Regions from separate parts of the Homo sapiens genome. Here all the other regions are linked to region 1. The links are contacts of gene promoters, found by promoter capture Hi-C in blood cells and fetal thymus (Javierre and others, 2016). All regions are on one chromosome and are shown on one strand. Each heading gives the region's core, a stretch centred on a gene start or on the middle of the fragment in contact. The rest is flanking DNA. Distances are from core to core; before and after follow the strand shown. Region 1 holds the start of MYL12A (myosin light chain 12A). Region 2 overlaps SMCHD1 (structural maintenance of chromosomes flexible hinge domain containing 1). Region 3 overlaps DLGAP1 (DLG associated protein 1). Region 4 overlaps DLGAP1 (DLG associated protein 1).

Evidence for each region. Contacts are between HindIII fragments. The CHiCAGO score rates a contact against its expected background, and 5 or more counts as called.
Region 2: a fragment that was not itself captured here is called in contact with the fragment with the promoter of MYL12A in region 1 in 1 of 17 cell types (neutrophils); the score reaches 5.1 in neutrophils.
Region 3: a fragment that was not itself captured here is called in contact with the fragment with the promoter of MYL12A in region 1 in 14 of 17 cell types (naive B cells, total B cells, total CD8 T cells and 11 more); the score reaches 10.2 in naive B cells.
Region 4: a contact is called between a fragment that was not itself captured here and the fragment with the promoter of MYL12A in region 1, in 1 of 17 cell types (endothelial precursors). The highest score is 6.5, in endothelial precursors.

The regions. Positions count from the first base shown.
Region 1 is chr18:3,246,551-3,250,116 of GRCh38, reverse strand. MYL12A (myosin light chain 12A) reads right to left here and starts at 2,316. Exons shown (of 4, transcript NM_006471.4): 1 at 2,208-2,316. It also overlaps a transcript of MYOM1 not described here. RefSeq lists enhancers at 1,178-1,247, 2,380-2,609 and a silencer at 2,010-2,089. The HindIII fragment of the contact is 13,247 bases long and covers 1-3,566 here.
Region 2 is chr18:2,752,053-2,755,618 of GRCh38, reverse strand. SMCHD1 (structural maintenance of chromosomes flexible hinge domain containing 1) reads right to left here. Exons shown (of 48, transcript NM_015295.3): 34 at 3,067-3,131. Among named protein-coding and RNA genes, the nearest start is that of EMILIN2, 93 kb to the left of the region's middle. The HindIII fragment of the contact is 1,697 bases long and covers 1,183-2,879 here.
Region 3 is chr18:3,665,706-3,669,271 of GRCh38, reverse strand. All of the region lies in intron 7 of DLGAP1 (DLG associated protein 1), which reads left to right. Among named protein-coding and RNA genes, the nearest start is that of DLGAP1-AS6, 14 kb to the right of the region's middle. RefSeq lists a silencer at 3,209-3,503. The HindIII fragment of the contact is 2,330 bases long and covers 639-2,968 here.
Region 4 is chr18:3,627,448-3,631,013 of GRCh38, reverse strand. All of the region lies in intron 7 of DLGAP1 (DLG associated protein 1), which reads left to right. Among named protein-coding and RNA genes, the nearest start is that of DLGAP1-AS6, 24 kb to the left of the region's middle. The HindIII fragment of the contact is 1,222 bases long and covers 1,063-2,284 here.

The sequences.
Region 1 (3,566 bases), core at 1,067-3,566:
AGGTATATCTCCTAATGCTATCCCTCCCCCCTCCCCCCTGAAATTGCTTTTTACAAAAAGCAAGCTAGGGTAAAATAAATTGAAAAGATTTCATGTCAATGTAATTATTCTTTAGGATGCAAAGATCGCCAGGTAAGGACCTGAGGTTTCCAAATTACGAAGCTCCTCAATCATAAAGTCGAGTCTTTATTTACTTATTTATTTTTATTTATTTATTTTTGAGACGGAGTCTTGCTCTGTCGCCCAGGGTGGAGTGCAGTGGCGCGATCTCAACCTCCACCTCCAGGGTTCAAGCAATTCTCTGCCTCAGCCTCTGGAGTAGCTGGGATTACAGGCACCCACCACCATGCCCAGCTAATTTTTGTATTTTTAGTAGAGACGGGGTTTCACCACCTTGTGCAGGCTGGTCTTGAACTCCTGACTTCGTGATCCACCTGCCTCGGCCTCCCAAAGTGCTGGAATTACAGGCGTGAGCCACCGCACCCAGCTCGAGTCTTTATTTTTGAGGGATTAAGTGAAAGATCCTTGGTGTCAAGGAGTGTCTGTTGTACGAAACTGGAAAGTAGAGAGACTTACAGAACAGGCTTCTACAAAATATGAGGATTTCAGATGCATGAGAAAGTGGATGAAGGGCAGTTAGGAGACTGAGTTTACAGATCTAAAGGAGCATAACCTTTTTTTTAAGTCAGGCGAGGTGAGCGCTGGTGGCAATGAATCTGGTTTTTATTTTGTGTTTTAGCTCAGAATCATTGTGGGCTGTAACGAGAGATACACAACATGATTAAGGAAAATGTTAGACTAGATTAATAGGTGGGAGAAATAGAAGAGATTCTCAAAGTGGCTTTCCCCACACACCAAAGGACACAAGAAGTTTTCAGAATCTCTAGAAACTATGTTCATTTATAAAATGGGATTAATCCATACCAATATATACATTAGAGTTCTGTGGTTAGAATCCTAGAGTCCAGCATTTATTTACAAAGTGGCAATAAATGTAAAATAACCTAGAAACTTCTTCTACAAAACGAACACTCAAATTGATAATATTCTGAGAAATATCACACATTCTGCAAGAAAAAACCACCATCTTACAAAACACTGCGTACTGTGATAGCACCTAGTATTTGGTGGGCTTTCTAAACCCTGACCAAATATACCGCCTCATTTAATCAATGCACTTAAAAAAAAAAAGCCTAAGTATAACTTATTTTCTGGTGCTAACCACAATTTTTAAAAAGTGTATTTCAAGTTGGTGCTTCCGTTCCAAGTAAACCAAGTTTCATTTCTTATGCAAACTTCCGGTTGAAGGTAGGATTCGTTCTCTTGGACTGCCACACCCAAAAGTTCTCACCACTGGACAAAGACAATTAGCTGTGAGGGCTGACTTGCCAGTAAAGCCTCGCTTTTGAAAATAGAGTGCTTTTCTGATTACCGTTTATTAGAGCCCTTCCAGAACATGAAACAAATACCAATAATTTTAAGAAATATTCGCTTTATTCGCCTTTAAATATGAAACTTTTTGCACTTAAGTTAAAATCTCTGCTAAATCCATAGGTCTCTCAAGAACTGACAGATACATTCATATACCTACTAAACTACTTTAAAAAGAAGACACTTCCATGGCGAATTGAATTAGCCCAAACTTTCCCCCCAAATGGGACAAGGTATTACATTTTGGAGTTTTTCTTCGAGTCACAAACTAAACTCCAGATCTCTCTGTCCAAAATTTCATCGCTTAAAGAAAAAAAGTTCTAATTACAGGAGCGGATACTGAGCTGAAGAACTTCCCAATTTGAGTTGGTTATTCCTACTAAACGCAGCCACACAGCTGCAACAACAGCTGCAGCAGGGGGACAACGGGCTACGTTTTTGCGCAAACCCTCTTGAATCGGGCAAGTTGACGTTAGAAACTAAAATAGTCCCGGAGTCAGCTCTGCAGGGGTCGGGTTTCGCGGGCCCGGCAGTCGCCCAAGCTCAAGGCGCCAGTGAGCGAAGCCACATTTCCAGAGTTCCAAGTTTGGGCACAGGAGCGAAGTTCGGGTCTGGGCCACTCCAAGCCATGGCCTCGGATCCCAGAACCGGGGACCTGGCTGGCACACCTGCCCAGGTGCGCTACCGGCGCCAGGAGCCCCGCCGCCCTCCAGCTGCCCCCGCGGAGACGGGTCCCCGGGATGGGTCTCACGCGCCCGAACGCGAGCGCCACTCACCCGGCACAGCTACGAGAATCCGAGCACCTCTCCGAGCCCCTCGCTGCCGCTATCACACCACCCTGCTACCCAGAGAGCCGCTAAAAACCACCGCTTCCGGCCTCTGCTTAGCAAGCCGGAAGGAAGCCCGGTCACCTTTCTTGGCCCGCAGAGTGGGTCTGACTTCACGGAGGGGCGACAGAGAGGGAAGTCGCCAGTGTGGTCAGCGGGCGTGGTATTGACCAAGTGCATGAGAAGGAAGTGTAAAGTGGGCGACCTAGAATATAGAGCAATATATAATGGTCCTCTGGGTCCTGTTACTGAGTTTCCTTCTTTTTTGTACCTGTTGTTGCAGTGTTAAGTCTTCCTCCCCCCTATCCTTTCCGCAGATGGTTGCGTCCGTCCTGTGGCTTTGCCTGGCCGCACATTCCAGGGCACGGCGAAGGGCGGGGCCCGTCGGCCCAAGTCCTTGTAGGGAAATCGAGGAGAGGGCTGCGGGCCCACGTGACTGACCCTCGCCCCGCCCCGAAGCCGGGCTCCAGCTTGTGGGCGGTAGTGCGCCTGCGCTTGACGCCCCGCGCGGGGTCTGGGTCTCCGCCTGAGGGCCCCGGAGCAGTGCGCGTATCCCGGGAGCGGATCTTGATGCTAGCTCTGTGTGCAGTGTAATTTTATTAAGAGTCCCGCCCCCTCCATACGGGAGGAAACGTGTGTCCCTGGGGCCCTCAGCCAAGCCTCCACTATCTTTTTGGCCCAGACGGATTTCCCAGGTCACAAGTGGCTGGAGACTTCCTCTTGAAAAACATTTGCCGTCGTTTTTCCCTGGCAGAGCCCCTTTGACCCTGGCTAACAAGGACAGCCTGACTTGGATCCCACTATGCAGGAAGGAAGGCGACTCTTCCCCGCACCTCTTGCTACGATTAGGACTTGCGACTTGGTGAAAACAGGAATCAAAACTTGGGCCTATTTCTCCTGAGGTCTGCTTGCCTAGAACAATTCGTAACGATGAATCTTATTAAAAAGAGAAAGTCCTCCCCGACTTTATCTTTTTCCGCCCAGAATCCGATAAGGAAGACTTGTTCTGGCCCCCTCAGCTCTCTGACCTCACCTACCAGAGGAGAGAGTGGGATCCTCTAACACTCGAGCCGTCATCCCAGCACTAGGGGACAGTGACCAGTGTGGCTCCCGTGGCCAGAACCCTTCTGAAGTTTGGGTTGCCCTGTGGTCTTCGCCTTCAAAGCAGGCCGCCACTTGAATCCTTCTGGAACGGACAGTGTTGCTGTAAACGCCGCGGAATAGTATCTTCTAAGTATTCGTAGCTTCTTTCTTGAGGGATCTCGGGAACGTTCCGTGTATTAACCACTAACGTATTCCAAAGTTAAC
Region 2 (3,566 bases), core at 782-3,281, 490 kb after region 1:
TCCAGCCTGGGAGACAGAGCAAGACTCCATCTCAAAAAAAAAAAAAAAAAAAAGAAAGAAAGAAAAAGAAAATACACAAAAACTGGAAAATAACAAACCTACTATTATAAATCCTAGACATTTTTCTTAAATCCCAAAGAATCTACAAATAAAATCAGAGCCAGGAGTGGTGGCTCACATCTGTAATCCCAGCACTTTGGGAGGCTGAGGTGGGAGGATTGCTTGAACTCAGGAGTTCAAGACCTGCAATGAGACCTTGAGTCCACAAAAATTAAAAAATCAACCAAGTGTGGTGGTGTGGGCCCATAGTCCCAGCTAGTTGGTAGGCTAAGGCCCAAGAGTTTAAGACAAGCCCAGACAACATAGTAAGACCCTGTCTCCACAAAAAATAAAATCATAAGTCAGGCGTAGTGCTGTGGGTCTGTAGTCCCAGCTGCCTGAGAGGCTGAGGTAGGAAGATTGCTTGAGCCTGGGAGGTCAAGGCTACAGTGAGCCATGATTGCACCACTGCACTACAGCCTGGGTGACATAGTGAGACCCTGTCTCTAAATTAATTAATTAATTATTTAAAATAAGAAATGAAGGAGTTTAACAAAGATAACTGCTACAAGGTCAATATACATAAATCAATTGCATCTCTCTAACCAAAAACAACAGAAAATAAAAATGTTTTAGGAGATATCATTTACGATGGACCTCATGTGATCTGCCTGCCTCTGCCTCCCAAAGTGCTGGGATTATAGGTGTGAGCCACCGCACCTGGCCTCACACTATACATTAAAAAAAAAAAAAATCAATTCCACGTATAACTGTATAAAAAGAACACAGCAAACCTAAAGTGCTATCCTTAGAAGCACTTGTCTGCTTGCAAGATGGGCCCTTCGCAGACATCTGTGAGTTTAGATTTCAGGAGGGTTCTCACCTTTAACTGATATGAGTGGCTCACATTGCCTAAACCACTGCACTAATATGGTTTATGCTACACACTTGCTTTTCTTCTGAAAATCTGGTATTTGCTAGGCAGAGGCTGCCTATGTGACCACACCCTAACAAAAACCCTGAATGCTGAGTCCCCAGTGAGCTTCCCTGGTTGACAACATTTTATACGCATTGTCACAATTTATTGTTGGGGAATTAAGCACATACTCTGTGACTTCACCAAGACAGAATCCTTGGAAAGCTTCCTCTGTGTCTGCTTTCCCTTGGACATCACCCCATGAGCTTTTTACCTTGCTCATTTCACTTTGAATCCTTTTGTTTCAATAAAACATAGCTATGAGCCCAGCTATATATTAAGTCCTGTGAGTCCTCCTGGTGAATCATCAAACCTGGCATTGGTATTGGGAACCCCCAACACAATAATATAGTAAAATGTGTTGATGACCTAAATGTAAGGAAAGACTTAAACAGGACACAAAGAAGATCAACTATAAAAAAGATGATTAACACATTTGCTTATATAAAAATTAACCACTGCTGTTCAAGATATCATAAAATGAGAAAGCAAGCCACAGGATAGGCAAAGATGTCTAAACAAAAGGCTTGTATCTCTAATATATAAAGAACTCCTACAAATTAATATAAAAAATAATACAAAAGTTATTAAGATACTCAAAAAAGGCACTTCACAAAAGGTAATCTAAGTGGCCAATAAATATATGATAAACAGGGAAATGCAAATTAAGAGTAAGTGTGATGCCACTCTATTACATGTCCACCAGAAGATTACACCTGAAAAGACCCACAAAACCGTGTTGGGAAGGGCCGGGCACGGTGGCTCATGCTTGTAATCCCACCATTTTGGGAGGCTGAGGTGGGCAGATGGCTTTGAGCTCAGGAGTTCGAGACTAGCCAGAGCAACTTGGTGAAACCCAGTCTCCACACACACACAAAATAAATAAATAAATAAATTTGCTGGGCATGGCAGCACATTCCTGTAGTCCTAGCTACTTGGGAGGCTGAGGCAGGGGGCTCGCTTGAGCCAGGGAAGCAGAGGTTGCAGTGAGCCACTGCACTCTAGGCATTGCACTCTAGCAAGGCTATGTATTAAAAAGAAATAAACCCTCAAGCTACTCAAGTTAAACACACACATCTATGTTTAACATCTATATTTAACATCTAACATACACATCTATATTTAAATATACACATCTATGAACTTATGACCCAGCAATTTTACTTTTATATGAGCACCAGTGTTATAAAGATTATTTGTAATAGCCCAAAATTGAAAATGCAAATAGCCATTAACAGAATGGAAAATAGTAGTGTGTTCACACAATGGACTTCTATACAGCAATGGAAATGAATGAATTTATAGCTATATGCCACAGAATCTCATGATGCTGAGTGAAAGAAGTCTTATGCAAAGGAAAATAATTGTATATCAAGTTCAAAAATGGGCACAACTAAATCAGAGACTATAGAGATGTATGCTAAGATAAACGGAACTCTAAATAAGACCAAATCAGGAGAGGGTTTGTGGTGTGTGCATGTGTGTGTCTACATGAGTGTGTGCATGGCATGCACAACAGGAAGGAAGACGGTAATAACTGGAAGAGGTAAGGGGTGGAGCTTCCATGATTGGTCCTTTACCAATTAGTCTGAAAAAGCACTGAACAAATATAATGAGCATTTTGACCCTATTGATGATAAAGGATTTGTAAAGAAACTTAACACATAATGTTTTTAGATTTGAAAATGGAGGTCCAGAATGAAGCAGCAACATGCTCAAAGTCACAGAAATGTTAAAAGCCAGTCTAATCTTTATAGAAACCTCCTATATAATAAGAAGTTATAAAGTGCCCTGACAACATAAAAGAATTCTTCTGATGGCTTCGATAGTTTCAAAAGCAAATACAATTACAATTTACAAAGCTTAAAACCAATTTAATGCTTAAAAACGAAAACACACCTTTTCCCAAAAAACTGAGAAAAATTTAGAGACACTAACATTTCTATTTGATCATAAATTACTTTTCCTCAGGTGAGCCCACATATATCTCCAGGGTTGAATTACTTTGTAACAAGATATGTATTCAAAATATGAAATGTTTTGAGAAATACCTGAAATAGAAGCAGCCATCTTCTTTGTCATTATCTTTTATTTTATTACAACTAAATGTTTCTGCCTAGAAAGGGGAGTAGGAGAGAAGGGGAGAGGGGAAAATGACAAAATTTAACATAGTATACTTAGGAGGAAAGCTTATTATATACCTAAACTGAATGTGTATCTGGATTCCATTTATAAACATACAGGTATATATACACACGTTTATATCTTCATAATACATGTAAGGTACAATGTGAGATTAGTGACAGTGGAAAGACACCCCATTATTAAAAGACACACAGTAGAACTTTATGGTGATATTATTTAAAGATAATACCAACTTGATTGGACTGATGGTCTAAATTAAGCAAGCAAAGATTCAGGATTAATTAAGCAAGATAGTTTCCAAAACCAATGATTAAAATGAACCATAAATGTTGAAGTAGATTATTATATCAGGACACTGATAAACTTTAGTTCCCAATTTTAGATTTATTTCAGATCTGCATTATCC
Region 3 (3,566 bases), core at 554-3,053, 420 kb before region 1:
TCATTTAAAGGCATCACGCTCTTCCCTTCCCAGCACTCCTTATCAATAATACGCAAGATTTTAAAGATGCAGTGCAAAATAAGAAAAACATCTGGAAGGTCTGGAACCCTAATACCAGTCTGCGTTGTCTTTCTTAAAGACTGAAATTGTACAACATTTATTTTCATTTAACAAACACTTATCACTTGTATTTGTCAGCCTTTGTTCAAAGATGCTGTACGAATATTAACATGTCAAATATTATGTAGATCATTCTATTGCTTTTTAATTTATTTATTTATTTATTTTGAGACAGAGTCTTACTCGGTCGCCCAGGCCGGAGTGCAGTGGCGCGATCTCGGCTCATTGCAAGCTCCGCCTCCCAGGTTCAAACGATCTCCTACCTCAACCTCCCAAGTAGCACCTGCCACCTCACCCAGCTAATTTTTGTATTTTTAGTAGAGACGGGGTTTCACCATGTTGCCCAGGATGGCCTCGAACTCCTGGCCTTAGGTGATCTGCCTGCCTCGGCCTCCCAAAGTGCTGGGATTCCATGCGTGAGCCAGTGCACTGGGCCAAGCATTCTATTTCTCATTTATGGTGCGTCTATTTGCCACCACTGCTTCGACTGAGGATAGCTTGGCACAAGATGTGAAGCTTGTTTTGAAGGCCTGAGCAGAGATTTTTTTTTGCACAGTGGAGTCCAGTATTTTGCCAAAGGCACAGAAGAAGGTACGGAAGATGAAAAACTTTTCCCCAGCCTGGGCAACACAGTGAGACCCCCATCTCTACAAAAATTTGCAAATTAAAAAAATTAGCTGGGTGTGGTGGCATGTGCCTGTAGTCCTAGCTACTTGGAGGCTGAGGGGGGAGGATCACTTGAGCTCAGGACTTTGAGGCTGCAGTGAGCTATGATCACACCACTGCACTCCAGCCTGGATGACAGTGTGAGACCCTGTCTCTAGAAAACATGGAAGGAAGGAAAGAAGAAACGAAGGAAGGAAAAACTGTTCCTTTACCCTCTTAAGTTCAGTGTTTTGGGGGCTGCAAAAGAAAAGACAGGCTTCTGTTCATTATGTATGGGAGTTCTCAGGAAAATATGCCTCAAGGGGGCACTTACAATTTGGGGCTTATGTGCCATCTGAACAAGAGAAGGGGAGGAGGAGAAGGGCACTTAAGGAAAAATAAATTACTTTTAAGAAAGATCATGGGCCTTTAGGAGAATAGATGGGAGATGATAGTTTTGTGACAATGCCTGTTTAGGTGTGCTGTGGGCTTCTCTTTGGTATTAGAGTCAACTTTCTCTGGTTGCAGAAAAATCTGTGGGAAGGGATTTATGACAATTGAGTTTTGGGAGGAGGTTCTGCTTTGGGGCAGATAAGGAGTTTAGAAATAAGCCTCTTATCAAATGCCTTCAGCTCAAAATCATTTTTATGCCACAGTGGCATATTCTAGAGGAACCTGGGCCAAGGAAGACCACCCTTGGCCTTACTCCTGGAGTCATTCCGGCTCTGGCCTAGCCTTGGGGGTGGAACTCTGCCCTGGTGTGGACAAGAATGGACCCTCTCAGGCCCCAGCATATTCTCAGAGGTCCAGTCACACCGACCTGGAAGTGTCAGAGATGTACTTAATTCTAGGTTTGCACTGAGGCCAGGTAGAAACCGCAGTACCTGGAGCATTTCTTTGTGTTTTGGGGTTTTAATAGACTTGGCCAGGAACCAAGTCCAAGCCCTTTCAACATCACAGAATGTTTTTTAATCTTCCCTAGTCCACCGGAGTGGAAAACTCACATAGTTCTCATCATTCACAAACACTTAAAGGGTGTTTACTAGGTACTAGATGGTATATGCTACTATTATCAGCCTCATTTTGTAAGTGGAGGAGACAAAGAAAGGTTAAGAGGGTTTTCCAAGTTCACATGGATGGTAAGCAGCACAGTCAATATTTGTTGACTGTGAGGCCGAGGCAGGTGGATCGTTCGAGGTCAGGAGTTTGAGACCAGCCTGGCCAACATGGTAAAACCCCGCCTCTACTAAAAGTACAAAAATAAGCTGGGTGGTGGTGGCGCATGTCTGTAATCTCAGCTACTCAGAAGGCTGAGGCAAGAGAATCGCTTGAGTCTGGGAGGTGGAGGTTGCAGTGAGCTGAGATGCACCACTGCACTCCAGCCTGGGCAACAGAGTGAGACCCTGACTCCCAAAAAAAAAAAAATTGACAAATTAGCAACCGGGCACAGTGGCTCAGGCCTGTAATCCCAGAGCTTTGGGAAGCCAAAGCAGGAGGATCACTTGAGGTCAGGAGTACCAGCCTGGACAACACAGTGAGACCTCATCTCTAAAACAAAACAAAAAAATTTAAAAATAAGAAAATTAGCAGGGTGTAGTGGTGGGCGCCTGTAGTTGCAGCTACTACGGAGGCTGAGGCAGGAGGCTCCCTTGAGCCTAGGAGTTCAAGATTGCAGTGAGCTATGATTGCACCACTGCACTGCAGCTTGAATGACACAGCAAGACCCTATCTCTAAAACAAATTTAAAAATTGTTTAAAAAAAAACTTTTTAAATTGACAGATTAGAATCTGATCAGTTTCTTTCCAGAGCTACTTGAACATCTCAGGAGATTCTGCTAAGGATGGAAAAGGAAGGAGTTTTAATTTCAAAGTTTCATTCCATGTCTTGTCAAACCAAGTCTAGATTTGCCATTTAGAACTGCATTCTCTGATCCTGTGTTTTAAGAGAGGTTTCTCCATGTAGATGAAACCAGGAGCTGCATCCTTCCTCGGATTGGTAGGTGTTCCATGGGCTTTATCTGTGCGGCGTAATGACAGCACACAAACGCCAGGGGGCAATGCAGTTTCACCGAAGAATCCTAGGAAACTCGGGTCTGGCTTTGACTAAGAACATTGGCAGGATCCTGGGGCAAAGGTGGAAATCCTTACTAAAAAGAGTTCCGCCAAGGAAAAAATATGTTTAAAAATCCTTTCTTTGAAAGCTTCCTGCATTGTCATCAAAATTGCCCTTCAGTATTTGTGCACAGCTGGAAGTTTTGTGATATTATTTGCAAAAGATTTACTTTTCGTTTTTTCTCAATGCGGCTGCCTAGTCTTTCCTGGAAGGTTTCCTGGGTCTTTCTGCGTAGGAAGGATTATTCTAACCAGCTCTCGGGTAGCCTGGATCACATTGTTAGGACTCTGTTGCGTCCTCTGCCTGACCGCGGGGCTCTCTTCCCCCGGTGCCCATTCAGCGCTTCCAGCTGCCTCTGCGGTTGGAGCCGGGCTCCCTTTAAGGTAATTCCAGTCTGGGCCTGTGTTTTGTTTCCAGCTCGGCAGCCGCCAGGTGTCTGCCCTCCCTTAACCTCCAAGGATGAGAGATCAAAGGTGCCCCTACATCTGCCTCCTGCCCAGCTCTTTAATCTGTTACATGTTCAAAAGGGACAAATGCAGTATTGTGCACTCAGGGAGGGAGGACAAATCAGAGAAGTGGAAATGGGCAGAGCCTCAGAATGTGTTAACTTACATAAATGATACGGAATATGCCTGTCGACATATTAGCCCTGCCACTGTAGAGGTGTTTTCTTCTTAAAAGAGCAAGA
Region 4 (3,566 bases), core at 424-2,923, 380 kb before region 1:
AGGAGACTCAGTCTCATAAAAAAAATAAAAATAAAAAATAAATAAAAAGATTCAAAACTGCAAATTAGAAAGGTGTCAATTCACTTAAAACTGATCTATAAATTTAATGCAATATCAACCAAAAACCTGAATTTTGTTGTTGTTGTTGTGTTTTAGTTTTTGCAAAGTGCCACATACAGCCAAGATACTCTTGAAAAGCAGCAAAATTAGAGGATTTGCCCTATTGAGCATCAAGATTCATAATTAGCCTATAGTAATAAGACATGGTGTTAGCACAAGGACAGGGCAGTAGCCCAACAGAACAGACTACAGATTACAGAAATAGTCCCGTGCTCATATGGAAGCTTGAGAGGCATCTTTGCAATTCAGTGGGGAAGGGACAATATTCAGTAGATGGTGCTGTCACTGAGGAGTATTTATTTGGAAAAAAAATAAAATAAAATTGGACTATACCTTTGTATTAGCCAGGGTTCTTCAGAGACACAGAGACAACAGGAGAGAGAGAAAGACAAAGATTTATTATAGGGAATTGGGGCACACAGTTATAGAGGCCGAGAATTCCCAAGATCTCGAGTCATCAAGCTGAGGACCCAGGAGACCTGATGTGTACTTCCAGCTTGAATCCAGGAGCCTGAGAACCAGGAGAGCTGATGGATAGTTTCAGTCTGAGGACCTGCAGGCTCACAACCCAAGGAGGACCAATGTTTCAGGCCAAGTCTGAAGGCTGGAAAAAACCGATGCCCCAACTTAACCAGTCGGACAGGAGAAATTCTCTCATATTCAGTCTTTTTATTCTATTCCGGTCTTCAATTGATTGAATGAGGCCCAACCACACTGGGGAGAGCAATCTGCTGTACTCAGTCTACTGATTCCAATGTAATACTCTCACTTGGAAGCACCATCACAGACACACACAGAATAATATTTGGCCAAATGTCTGGGTACCACATGGCCCAGTCAAGTTGACACATAAAATTAACCATTACAACTTTATACTCCAGCCCTCCTAAGCAATTCTAGTTGAATTTAAGACCTAAATGTGAAAGGCCAAACAATAAAGCTTCCCAAAATGATATGGGGGTAGGGGAAGTTTCTGAAATAAAATATGAAGAGCATGAAAATTTTTAAAAAGATTGCTACATTTGCCTATTGTGTTCAAACTTTGCCCTTCACAAGAAAGGGACATCGAAATATCAAAACCTGCAAAAAGTGCTCATCTCATTAGGAATCCAAAATAAGTAAATTAAATCCACAGTGAGATACCAATACACACCTACCAGGTTAGCAAAAAATTATTTCATTATTTTTTATTTATTTTTATTTATTTATTTATTTATTTTTTGAGACAGAGTCTCACTCTGTTGCCCAGGCTGGAGTGCGGTGGCGCGATCTCGGCTCACTGCAAGCTCCGCCTCCCGGGTTCACGCCATTCTCCTGCCTCAGCCTCCCGAGTAGCTGGGACTACAGGCGCCCACCAACACGCCCGGCTAATTTTTTTGTATTTTTAGTAGAGACAGGGTTTCAGCGTGTTAGCCAGGATGGTCTCGATCTCCTGACCTCGTGATCCGCCCGCCTCAGCCTCCCAAAGTGCTGGGATTACAGGGTTGAGCCACCGCGCCCAGCCTATTTTTTATTTTTATTTATTTGTTTGTAGACAGAGCCTCACTTTGTCACTCAAGCTGGAGTGCAGTGCCACAATCATGGCTCATTGCAGCCTCAACCTCCCAGGTTCAAGTGATCCTCCCACCTCAGCTATTTATTTTTTTAGAGATGGCGTCTTGCTGTGTTACCCAGGCTAGTCTCAAACTCCTGTCTTGGCCTCCCAAAGTGCTGGGATTGTAGGTGTGAGCCACTGTGCCTGGCCACAAAAAATTATAAAGTGTAACAATATCAAATGTTGGCAAAGATATGCAGCAGCAATAGGAATTCTCATGCACTGTTATGGGAGTGTATGTTGGGACAATATCCACATTTTTAAAAATATTATTTGACATTATGAAGAAACTCATAGCAAACAACCCGAACATTTTCTAGAAAAGTCTTTTACTTGTGTGCCAAATACAGGACAGGAATATTCATGGTGGCATTGTTCAAATACCAAAAAAACCCTAAATATCCATCTATAGTAAAATGTATTTTTATTGTTTATTTCCATGCAATGAAATGGTATTTTCATATAGCAATGGAAATTGACAAGTTGTATGTAATTACAATATAGGTGAATCAACCCACAACATTAAGTAAAAGAAGCAAAATACAAAAGAATACATATATGTAGTAAGCTTCTTTTAATTTAAAGTTCAAAACCAGGCATAATCAAGCTATATTGTTTAGGAATGCATGCAGAAATACTAAAGGCAAGAAAATAATGACAAATATCAGCAGACTAGTTACTTCTGGGATAGGAGGGGTTTGTAACAGGGAAAAGATGCACGGGGAATGTGAACTGCAGGCTCGGAGGCATTCTATAGCTTGGCCTACGTGGTGGTTTCGGAATCTTCATTTTGTAATTATTCTTTAAGAATAGGCTGGGCACACTGGCTCATGCCTGTAATCCCAGCACTCTGGGAGGCTGAGGTGGGTGGATCACTTGAGGTCAGGAGTACAAGACCCCTGGCGGACATGGTCAAACCTCGTCTCTACTGAAAATACAAAAATCGTCTGAGTGTGATGGCACATGGCTATAATCCCACCTACTTGGGAGGCTGAAATAGGAGAATCGCTCGAACCCGGGAGGCAGAGGTTACAGCGAGCCAAGATCACACCACTGCACTCCAGCCTAGGTGACAGAGCGAGACTCCGTCTCAAAAAAAAAAAAAAAAAAAGAATATAGCACAAGGCCAGGCGCAGTGGCTCACGCCTGTAATCCCACCACTTTGGGAGGCCAAGGCGGGTGGACCACTTGAGGTCAGGAGATCGAGACCAGCCTGGCCAACATAGTGAAAGCCCATCTCTACTAAAAATACAAAAATTAGCCAGGTGTGGTGCGCGCCTGTAATCCCAGCTACTCGGGAGGCTGTGGCAGGAGAATCACTGGAACCGGGGAGGTGGGAGGTTGCAGTGAGCCGAGATCGCCCCATTGCACTCCGGCCTGGACAACAGAGCGAGACTCCATCTCAAAAAAAAAAAAAAAAAAAAGGAAGGAAGGAGGGAGGAAGGGAGGGAAGGAAGGAAGAAAGAAAGAAAAAATAGCGGAGGGATTAATTAGATGGGCAGTCCCAGCTACTTGGGAGGTTAAGGCAGGAGGATCACTTGAGCTTAGGAATTTGAAGTTGCAGTGAGATGTGATTACATCACTGCACTGCAGCCTGGGCAACAGAGGAAGACCCCATCTCTAAAAATATATATAGCAGAGAAAGAAGGAATGCCCCACAACTAAATATTATATTACAAGACAAACTACTGTATGTTTTTTCAAATTACAAAAACTACCTGCTCTTCACTGTCTTCCTCCTCAAAATTCTGATACGCCCACCCATTAGAGAAGCATCCGGATAGCGTGTAGGACTGTAGCGTGTGGGAGAAGGACAGGAAAGATGGGGGATAAGAAAGCAAACATATATGCC